3 separate regions of the Homo sapiens genome follow, and all the other regions are linked to region 3. The links are contacts of gene promoters, found by promoter capture Hi-C in human tissues and cell types (Jung and others, 2019). All regions are on one chromosome and are shown on one strand. The core of a region is centred on a gene start or on the middle of the fragment in contact, and the rest is flanking DNA. Distances in the headings are between cores, read along the strand shown.

What was found. Contacts are between HindIII fragments. The study calls those that stand out against the background at their distance.
Region 1: a contact is called between the fragment with the promoter of CDC42EP1 here and the fragment with the promoter of GALR3 in region 3, in 1 of the 25 tissues and cell types used here (lymphoblastoid cells).
Region 2: a contact is called between a fragment that was not itself captured here and the fragment with the promoter of GALR3 in region 3, in 2 of the 25 tissues and cell types used here (dorsolateral prefrontal cortex and stomach).

Annotation. Positions count from the first base shown.
Region 1 is chr22:37,559,070-37,561,769 of GRCh38, reverse strand. It overlaps CDC42EP1 (CDC42 effector protein 1), which reads right to left and starts at 1,290. Exons shown (of 3, transcript NM_152243.3): 1 at 1,182-1,290. RefSeq lists enhancers at 1-47, 48-654. The HindIII fragment of the contact is 19,033 bases long and covers 1-2,700 here.
Region 2 is chr22:38,263,304-38,266,003 of GRCh38, reverse strand. All of the region lies in intron 1 of TMEM184B (transmembrane protein 184B), which reads left to right. Among named protein-coding and RNA genes, the nearest start is that of TMEM184B, 8.4 kb to the left of the region's middle. RefSeq lists an enhancer at 1,618-2,118. The HindIII fragment of the contact is 7,395 bases long and covers 1-2,700 here.
Region 3 is chr22:37,822,004-37,824,703 of GRCh38, reverse strand. It overlaps GALR3 (galanin receptor 3), which reads right to left and starts at 1,322. Exons shown (of 2, transcript NM_003614.2): 1 at 939-1,322. The coding sequence starts at 1,297. The HindIII fragment of the contact is 28,947 bases long and covers 1-2,700 here.

The DNA of each region.
Region 1 (2,700 bases), core at 41-2,540, 260 kb after region 3:
TCCTGGAGGCCACTGCTCGGGTGCACACAGCCCACTTCCTGCGGGCATCCAGCTGGGTGACGCCCCCCCCCACCGCTGGACAGCGGGTCCCTGTCATGGTTACGGCAGCTCCCCCAAACCTGCTCTGGTCCCTGGAATAAGGGGTTAAACCGGTCGGCTGACTTCTCCTGCTCCTCAAAGTCCAGACGCTTCAAGGTGGAGAGACGGGGAAACTGAGGCCAGAACGGGGTAGCTAGTTGTTCGCAGTCGCGCTAGGGGACCCGGTCCTCCGTATTCCAAGGGGGGCACCGTGGGCCATTAGGGAGCGACGGGGAAAGTGGAAAGGAGACGCGCTTCGTGCCCACCGCCCCGAGTTAGAGCCGAACCAGCCCGGGACCGAGCGAGACGGAGCGGCTGCGGGCCGCGTCTCGGGTCCCCGCGCCACGTTTAGTGCCGCTGCGGCCTCCCGGCCAGTCCCCCCTACTCTCTAAGCCTCAGTTTCCCGGTCTAGGAAAAGGGCTTCGAATGTTGCGGGTCTGGCACTGCTGGGGCAAAGGCAGAACAATCTGGAGGGCGGCCGGGATTGGAAGTCCGGGAAAGACTTCGGCCATCCAACATTCCCTGGGGGGACGGGGCTCAGGACGCGGAGGGTCGCTCCGCGGGGGAAGGGGACGACCGGCTGTCTTGGCCGGAGGGGAACCGGACGGGATGACCTCATCCGCGGCTCCAGCCTGGAATGCGGCGGTCGGGGAGGGGGGCAGGGTGCCTGTCCATCTCCCCGGGCCCCCCACCCCCCACTTCCCGCTCTCCGCGTGGGCCTCGGCGGAGGGGAGACATTCCGCCGCGTCGCCCGCTGCCCGCCCCGGCCCTTCCTTCCCCCGCGCAGGAAGGCGCGGAGACAGCCCCCGCTCTGCCCCTCGGCTCGCCCCCTCCTCGCGCATTTTGGCCGCTCAGCCGTGTCCGATCCTCTGCCCCCTCCACCAGCCTGGAACGGGACACGAAGCCCGAAAGCTCGGAGTTTCCTCGCGCGGCTCCGCGGCCGCGCCCGGCCTTCCTGTGGGCACCCGGGGGCGCCTCTCCCGGGCGGGTCCCGTCCCCGTTCCGGCCCCGGGAGCCTAGTAGGGTGCAGAGTCCCCGCGGGCGCCGGGACCCGCCGGCCTCCACGGCCTCCGCCCCGAGGACCCGCGCGCCCGGGCTGTTACCTGGCTCCGCGAGCCCCGGGGGCGCGGGACGAGGGCGGACTCGTCGTCTGCAGCGGCGGCGGCCGCGCGTCCCGGCTGGCAGCCCGGGAGAGTCGCTGGGCCGGTCTGCGCCGCCCTGGCCGCGGGCTCCGCGGGCTGGATCCGGGGGCGGGGGCGGGGTGTGGGCGCTCCCGCCTCCCGCCCGTCTCCTCCCGCCCGCGGGCGGGGCCCGGCCCCCTCCCCGGCCCCCTCCCCGGCACCGTCCTCGCGGCCGCCGAGAGCTGGCAGGGACGCGGCTGGGGGGCCAGGCCAGGCCTCTGCTCGCCACCCCGGACAAGGCCAGCCGGGGAACGTGCGGGCTGCCCCGGGGAGGCGACTCCGGTCCCCGGCCGCCAACCCCTCTTCCACCGGTTCCCCTCGTGGCCTTGCTTGGGGCGTCCAGGCCTGATGAACTCTCCTCCCTCCTGGGCCCTCCAGCCGCGCCCTGCGGGAGTTCGGGGAACCGGGAAGCTCGATCTGAGGCCTTGAATGCCTGGGCCTTTAAACCTTGATGTTTACAGGCATGACATGCCCACTCCTTTGCTCCCCATTCTCATTCCCTTCCATCCGGTACAGGCCCCGCGGTGCCCAGGAGGAAGACAGCCATACTGGGGCGACTGGTAGAGTGGGGTAGAGTGGCCGTCAAGACCGGGACCCTGGAGCCGGACAGCCTGGGCTCCTGTCCTGCCTCAGTCACTACTTACCTTTCTCTGCCTCAGTTTCCTGATCTGAAAGTGGGATAGATAATAGCAGCATCAGATGTTGTGTGAAGTGTTTCCTGCTCCAAGAGCACCTAGGAGGCTTGCTCGGCAGGTAAATGAAGTCGCATCTCAGAGACTTTACAGACCCTCCCCCCACCCCGCCCACCTCCATGGAGGGCAGGGAATCAGCCATACCCGGGACCCTGTGCCATCCTCAAGGAGGGGAGATAGATCTCTGGCCCCTGCCTCCCGTTGTTGTGCCCTCCTTTGACTACTCCCATCTGACTATAGAGTCCTCGGGCTGTCAGGGCACAGAGAGGTCCCTAATACTTCCTGCAGGGCCTGGGGGCTCAGGAAATCTTCCTAGAGGAGATGATACCTGAGTTAAGTCTCTCTCTCTCTCTTTTTTTTTTTTTTTTTTTTTTTTTTTTTTTTTTTTTTTTTTTTGAGACGGAGTCTCTCTCTGTTGCTCAGGCTGGAGTGCCATGGCATGATCTCAGCTCACTGCAGCTTCCACCTCCCGGGTTCAAGCGATTCTCCCTCCTAAGCCTCCGGACTAGCTGGGATTACAGGCACCCACCCACGCCCGGCTAATTTTTGTATTTTTTAGTAGAGAGGGGGCTTCACCATGTTGGCCAGGCTGGTCTTGAACTCCTTACCTCAGGTGATCCGCCTGCCTTGGCCTCCTCAAGTGCTAGGATTATGGGTGTGAGCCACTGCATGGTTGTGAGTTAAGTCTTAAAGGACGTGTAGGCAGAGGGAAGGGCAGTGGAAATGCACAGTGCACAGCTGGCAAGGGA
Region 2 (2,700 bases), core at 55-2,554, 440 kb before region 3:
ATCTCCTGCTCCAACCCCTGTGGACTGCCTGCACCCAGAATGGGGCCTCTCCTGCTGGCAAGTGGCTGAGAACCTCCACTCCACTCAGCAGGGCTGTTCCCCATTTACCGAAAAGCTCCGAGAGAAAATAACTAACCCCATGGCGCCGCTGTAGCTACTGGCAGAGCCTCCTGGTCCCCACCTCTAGCGCCTGTGGTTTTTGTTTCATGCAGAGTGAGCAGTGAATCTGGGATCCCATCAGCAGTCAGTTTGGGTGCCTGCGAGGCACAATGATAGATGTTGGTGAAGGGTATGTGTGAGGATATTAATTAATATTAACATGCTAGTTATATTAATATTCTCATTGGAATTTGTGGGGCTTTGCAAGTTATATTTCAAATATATGGTTTTATGTAATCCTTTTAACTGCCCTGAAACCTTGAAATTATTGCACCTATTTTATAGATGGAGAGACTGAGGCTCAGAGGGGTGAATTGCCTAAGATCCTGGGGGAGGAAGCACCCAGGTTTTCTGGTTTTGAGTCCTGGGCCCTTCCTGCTGAGTAGCTACCCCCAACACAGACCTGCCCTTGGAGAGCTTGCAGCCACACTGGGAAGGCCAGTGTATTGGATTGCTGCTTAGACCTGGAAAGCACGTGAATAAAGCTTCAGGTTAAAACCATGGGGGTTCCAGGAGGCAGCAGTCGGCTCTGCCTGGGGGTGAGCTGAGGAGCCGGTGCTCTCTGGAACAAGGGTAGTTGGGCTGAGGCTCAGTGGACAGTGGAGGTTGGCAGGTGAAGTGCAGGAGGTCTTTGCAGGGAGTGGGACCACCTTGAGCACACACAGAGGAATGAGACAGGCAGGTTACTCAAGGAGCAGAGGTCTCGTGACCACTTCCCAGAGCATGTGGGGTCCTAGCCTCATCTCCAGGAGGAGAAAGTGCATCTATACACAGATTTGTCAATGGAGTTTAAATAGGATGTGGGAAAATCTAGATTTTCCAAAACAGTACATATTTGCTTTGAGAAGAAAGGTAGATGCAGGATGCATAGGTTAGATAATTTTAATAGCAGTAACCTCAGAGCATGTAAGTATGATTTGATTTACTGGAGTGCCTGGCCGTCTCAGTCAGTGGGAGCACGGCTTGGGCTGGGAGATGAGGTTGACAAGGGTTCTTTCTCTCAAATGCTTCCTTTGGTTTGCTAAGAGGTATCTCCTACTCGGCCGGGGGCAGAAGACTTTTCCTTCTTTTCCCAGTTTGCAGTAGTTGGGCCAGATTTGTGGAAGTGGGAGAAAGGCCTGCCCTGCTTCTACATAGAGTTGGCTGTCCTGACTTGATACTCGGTGTGCCTTCCAGAGACCCGCCTCCATCTCCTCAACTCCCTGGCTTGATGCTTAGGTGGTGATGGCTGTTGGGCACAGGAGTTACATAACAGATCTGTGATGGACCCAGGAGCAGAGCCAGCTGAGTGAATGTCATGGAGTGGGAGTGGTCTTGCATGGCTGTGGTGTCCCCTGCAGCTTGTGCAGGGTATGTGGCAAGAGGTGCTCACCACTCATCTGGAATGGCTAGACTGGAAGCACTTGGCCCTCTTGGGCTCTGCACCCCCACCCCCTCCCACCTGGCCTGCCTGCTCATCTTCATGGGCGCCTGGGGAGACCAATTATGGCTGCTTGTCATAGTGGCTCAGGTCACCGTTCACACTTCCTGGGACCAGGACATCAGAGCCCTGAGAAGGGTCAAGGGGCCAAGTGGGCCTAGCCTTTTACTGACAGCTGGGAAATGCAAGCGTGTGGACCAGAGCACCAAGTGAGTTGGGGCCGGTGTGGGTTCAGCACCGTGTCCCTACCCAGAGCTCCATTTGTTGAAAACAGCCTTTCTCTACCGTTTCTTCACTTGGACAACTTTAAACTATGTATTGGCTGGTCGCGGTGGCTCACGCCTGTAATCCCAGCACTTTGGGAGGCCGAGGTGGGCAGGTAACTTGAGGTCAGGAGGTCGAGACCAGCCTGGCCAACATGGTGAAACCTCATCTCTACTAAAAATACAAAAATTAGCCCAGCGTGGTGACACGCACCTGTAATCCCAGCTACTCGGGAGGCTGAGGCAGAAGAATCGCTTGAACTTGGGAGGCAAAGATTGCAGTGAGCTGAGATTGCATCACCGCACTTCAGCCTGGGAGACAGAGCGAGACTGCATCTCAAAAAACAAACAGAAACCTACATATTTTCTATATTTCCCCCAACATTGAGGCTCATTTCTTGGATGAACAATTTAAATGTACTGTGCCTCTCTGGCAATATTTTCCAAAATTACAGATGTTTCTATACTTTCACCGGCAGCTCTGCCTCCCAGAATTTATTCTACGGATGGGTTAACACGTGTGCAAAATGATTTATTTGCAAGGTTCGTCATTGTTGCCTTATTTTTAATAGCAAAAGATTGGAGGCAGCTTAAATGTTCATTCGCAGGGGCCAATGAACAAACCATGGCCCGTCTAAACATGGGATACCGCGTGGCCATAATACATAAGATGGACGCTCAACGCACTGTGCCGGATTGAGCAGCAAGGTGGATTGCCGAGGGAAGAAGCAGGTCTGGGCGGTGTGTCTCGGAGCTGCCATCAGTGTAAAAGGGAAGAGAATCAAAAGTGTCTTTGCTTGTCTATGCCCAGGGGGTCTCTGGGCAGACACCGCAAGTCGGTGATTGTGATGCCTCTGG
Region 3 (2,700 bases), core at 73-2,572:
AGCGGGGCGGGCAGGTGCCCTCCCGCAGGGGCCCGCGCCACGTCCCGCGCCCGGGCCCTGCGGCCCAGTGCGCCTCCTGTGAACCGTGGGGGACGTGGCGGGGATTAAGGGTGTGAACGCGCAAGGTGCTTAGGCCCTTGCACCTAGCAAGGGCCCGATCCCGGTGACTTGTTATTTCTAGGATTATTTTATGGATGCGTCAGATGAGGTCCAGAGAGAAGTGACTTGCCCAGGGTCATCAGCTGGAGTGAGCCTGGATTTGACCCCAAGTTTCAAGCTGTGGAAGCAGATGTGTGCACAGCTTGGCCAGGTGTGGGCAGTTAGAAAATAGCTGGGCTGGGCGCGGTGGCTCACGCCTGTAATCCCAGCACTTGGGAGGCCGAGGCGGGCGGATCACTTGAGGTCAGGGGTTCGAGACCAGCCTGTCCAACATGGCAAAACCCCGTTTCTACTAAAAATACAAAAAATTAGCCAGGTGTGGTGGCCTGTAATCCCAGCTACTCAGGAGGCTGTGGCAGGAGAATCGCTGGAACCCAGGAGGCAGAGGTTGCAGTGAGCCAAGATCCAAAAAAAAAAAACAACAAAACAAAACAAAACAAAAAAACTGATGAACGCATTCGTGAGCTTCTTTTGCGATTCATTTCGCGCTTACAGAGCACTTACTATGTGCCAGACCCTGTGCTGCCACTTGAGACTCAGAGGCGTCCTCTGGAAGTTCACAGTGGAGGAGGGGAAGGGCAGGACAGTCCCCTCAAGCACGCCCTGCAGGTGCCCAGAGGCTGCTTGCGAGGGGTCAGGGAGCTTTTGTTTCCTCCCACCCACCTCCCTTTCTGGTCCCCCACTCTCTCCTTCCTAAGGCCAGTGAGGATCTGTTCAGGACTCCTCCCCCAACCCCCGCCCCCACAGCCCTGCCCAGCCAGGCCCCAGGCACAGCGCACCTGTCCACGGAGACAGCAGCCAGCGTAAAGCTGCTGGCGTACATGGTGAGGTAGATGAGCAGGTGCACGGCCTTGCAGACGAGGGCCCCAAAGAGCCAGGCATCCAGCGTGTAGATGGTGGCCTGGAAGGGCACGCAGCACAGGATGAAGCAGAGGTCAGCCACCGCCAGGTTGAGGATGAACAGGTCCGTGGTGCTGCCAGGCTCCTGCCAGGCACTCGGGCCAGGCTGCAGGAGCACTGCCAGCACCAGCCCATTGCCCACTGTGCCCAGCAGGAAGATTAGGGCAAAGACCACAGGCACTGCCACGGCCCCCACACTCCCTGGGCTGTCCAGTGAAATGTTCTGGGCATCAGCCATCTCCCCATCAGACGGGCACCTGGGAAGAGAAGCTGGAATCCTCAGGCAAGAGCCCCCAGTTCTGGTTGCTTGACCCCGGGATCTAACTCCCCCGACCTGGGTCTGGCCAGGTGTTCTGGGCTGGAAGCTCGTGGGAGATGGAGGAGGGGAGAGCAGAGCCAAAGTCATCGCTGAGTGTCACTGTGTGAGCAAGCTCGTGGTGTTCAAGGGGTGAGAGTTCCTCAGTTTCCTAAGGAACACCCCTGGAGTCCTGCCTGGAGGACTACCTAGGTATTTGAGGGACACTTTCAACCCACGAGGCTGGGGAAGGCACAAGCGAAGTAGGATGAAGATATGGCGATGGGGGGAGGGGCCAAACCCAGAAACTGGTATGTTTTCCTTCTCAATGGGGATCTGAAGCTCAGGGGAGACCCTGGGACATGGGTTTAGGGCTTTCTCTGGCTACAAGCTGTAGCCTTAGCAAAACACGGGTAACATCCCTGAGTCATTGGAGGGTCCAGTATAGTGAGATCATCACAATGGCAAAACTGGGAAGACCGTGTAGGTCACTGCTTCCTCTCTGCACATAGGGAAATTGAGGCCCAGAGAGGGGACATGGGAGGATAATATCACACTCGAAATGGCAGCTCTGGGGCTGTTGCCACCCTGGTATCCTGCCTCTTAAGCTAGAGTGCTCATCTGAGAGCTTGTAACAGGTGGTGCCTCTGACAACTTGTGTGTGTGCACACCGCACCCATGCTCACCCCCATCCCACTCTACAGCCCATGTCTCCTACTGCCTGTGGATCTCCTTGCAGGCTTGAGACCACTGGGGTGGTGGGACAAAGTAGGGGAAAGGGGGGTCAGGCAGGGAGTAGGGAAGAAAGGCAATGTCTGCCCCCATCCCAGCACCCAGCATGCAGTAGGTCCCCAAAGCCCAGGATGGGCAACACCCACCTCCGCCTTGGGCAGTGGGCTTGATCCTGGGTGGAATGGCCGGGCTGGGTGGGCCTCCTGATTCAGCGGCTGCCCCTTGGTGCCTCCCTGCAGGTACTGGTCTGCCTTCTACTTCTCCCCCTTTGCCTTTAAGGCCCCTCCTCTCCTCTGCCCCCTCTGCTGAGCCGGAGTTGGGCACTCCCTCTGGAGTAGCCACTGGCCACTTCCTCCTCAGTCCCTGATTTCCCCCAGGTGGCAGGCTCTTCTGCCTGGCTCTTCTCTGCCTCTCTGCGTTGCTGCTGCCTTTTCCTCTCTCTGCAGCCAGTAACCCATTGATCTCGCTCTCTGTGATTTGCTTTGTAGTTAACCCCTCTGTGCCCAGGGCCCAGCCAGTCTCTGGCACTCCCACCTCCTGTGGCCCAGCCTGATGTGACTCCATCCCCTATCCCTGCACCTTCTTGCTCCAATCCATGTTTAGAAAAGGTTCCT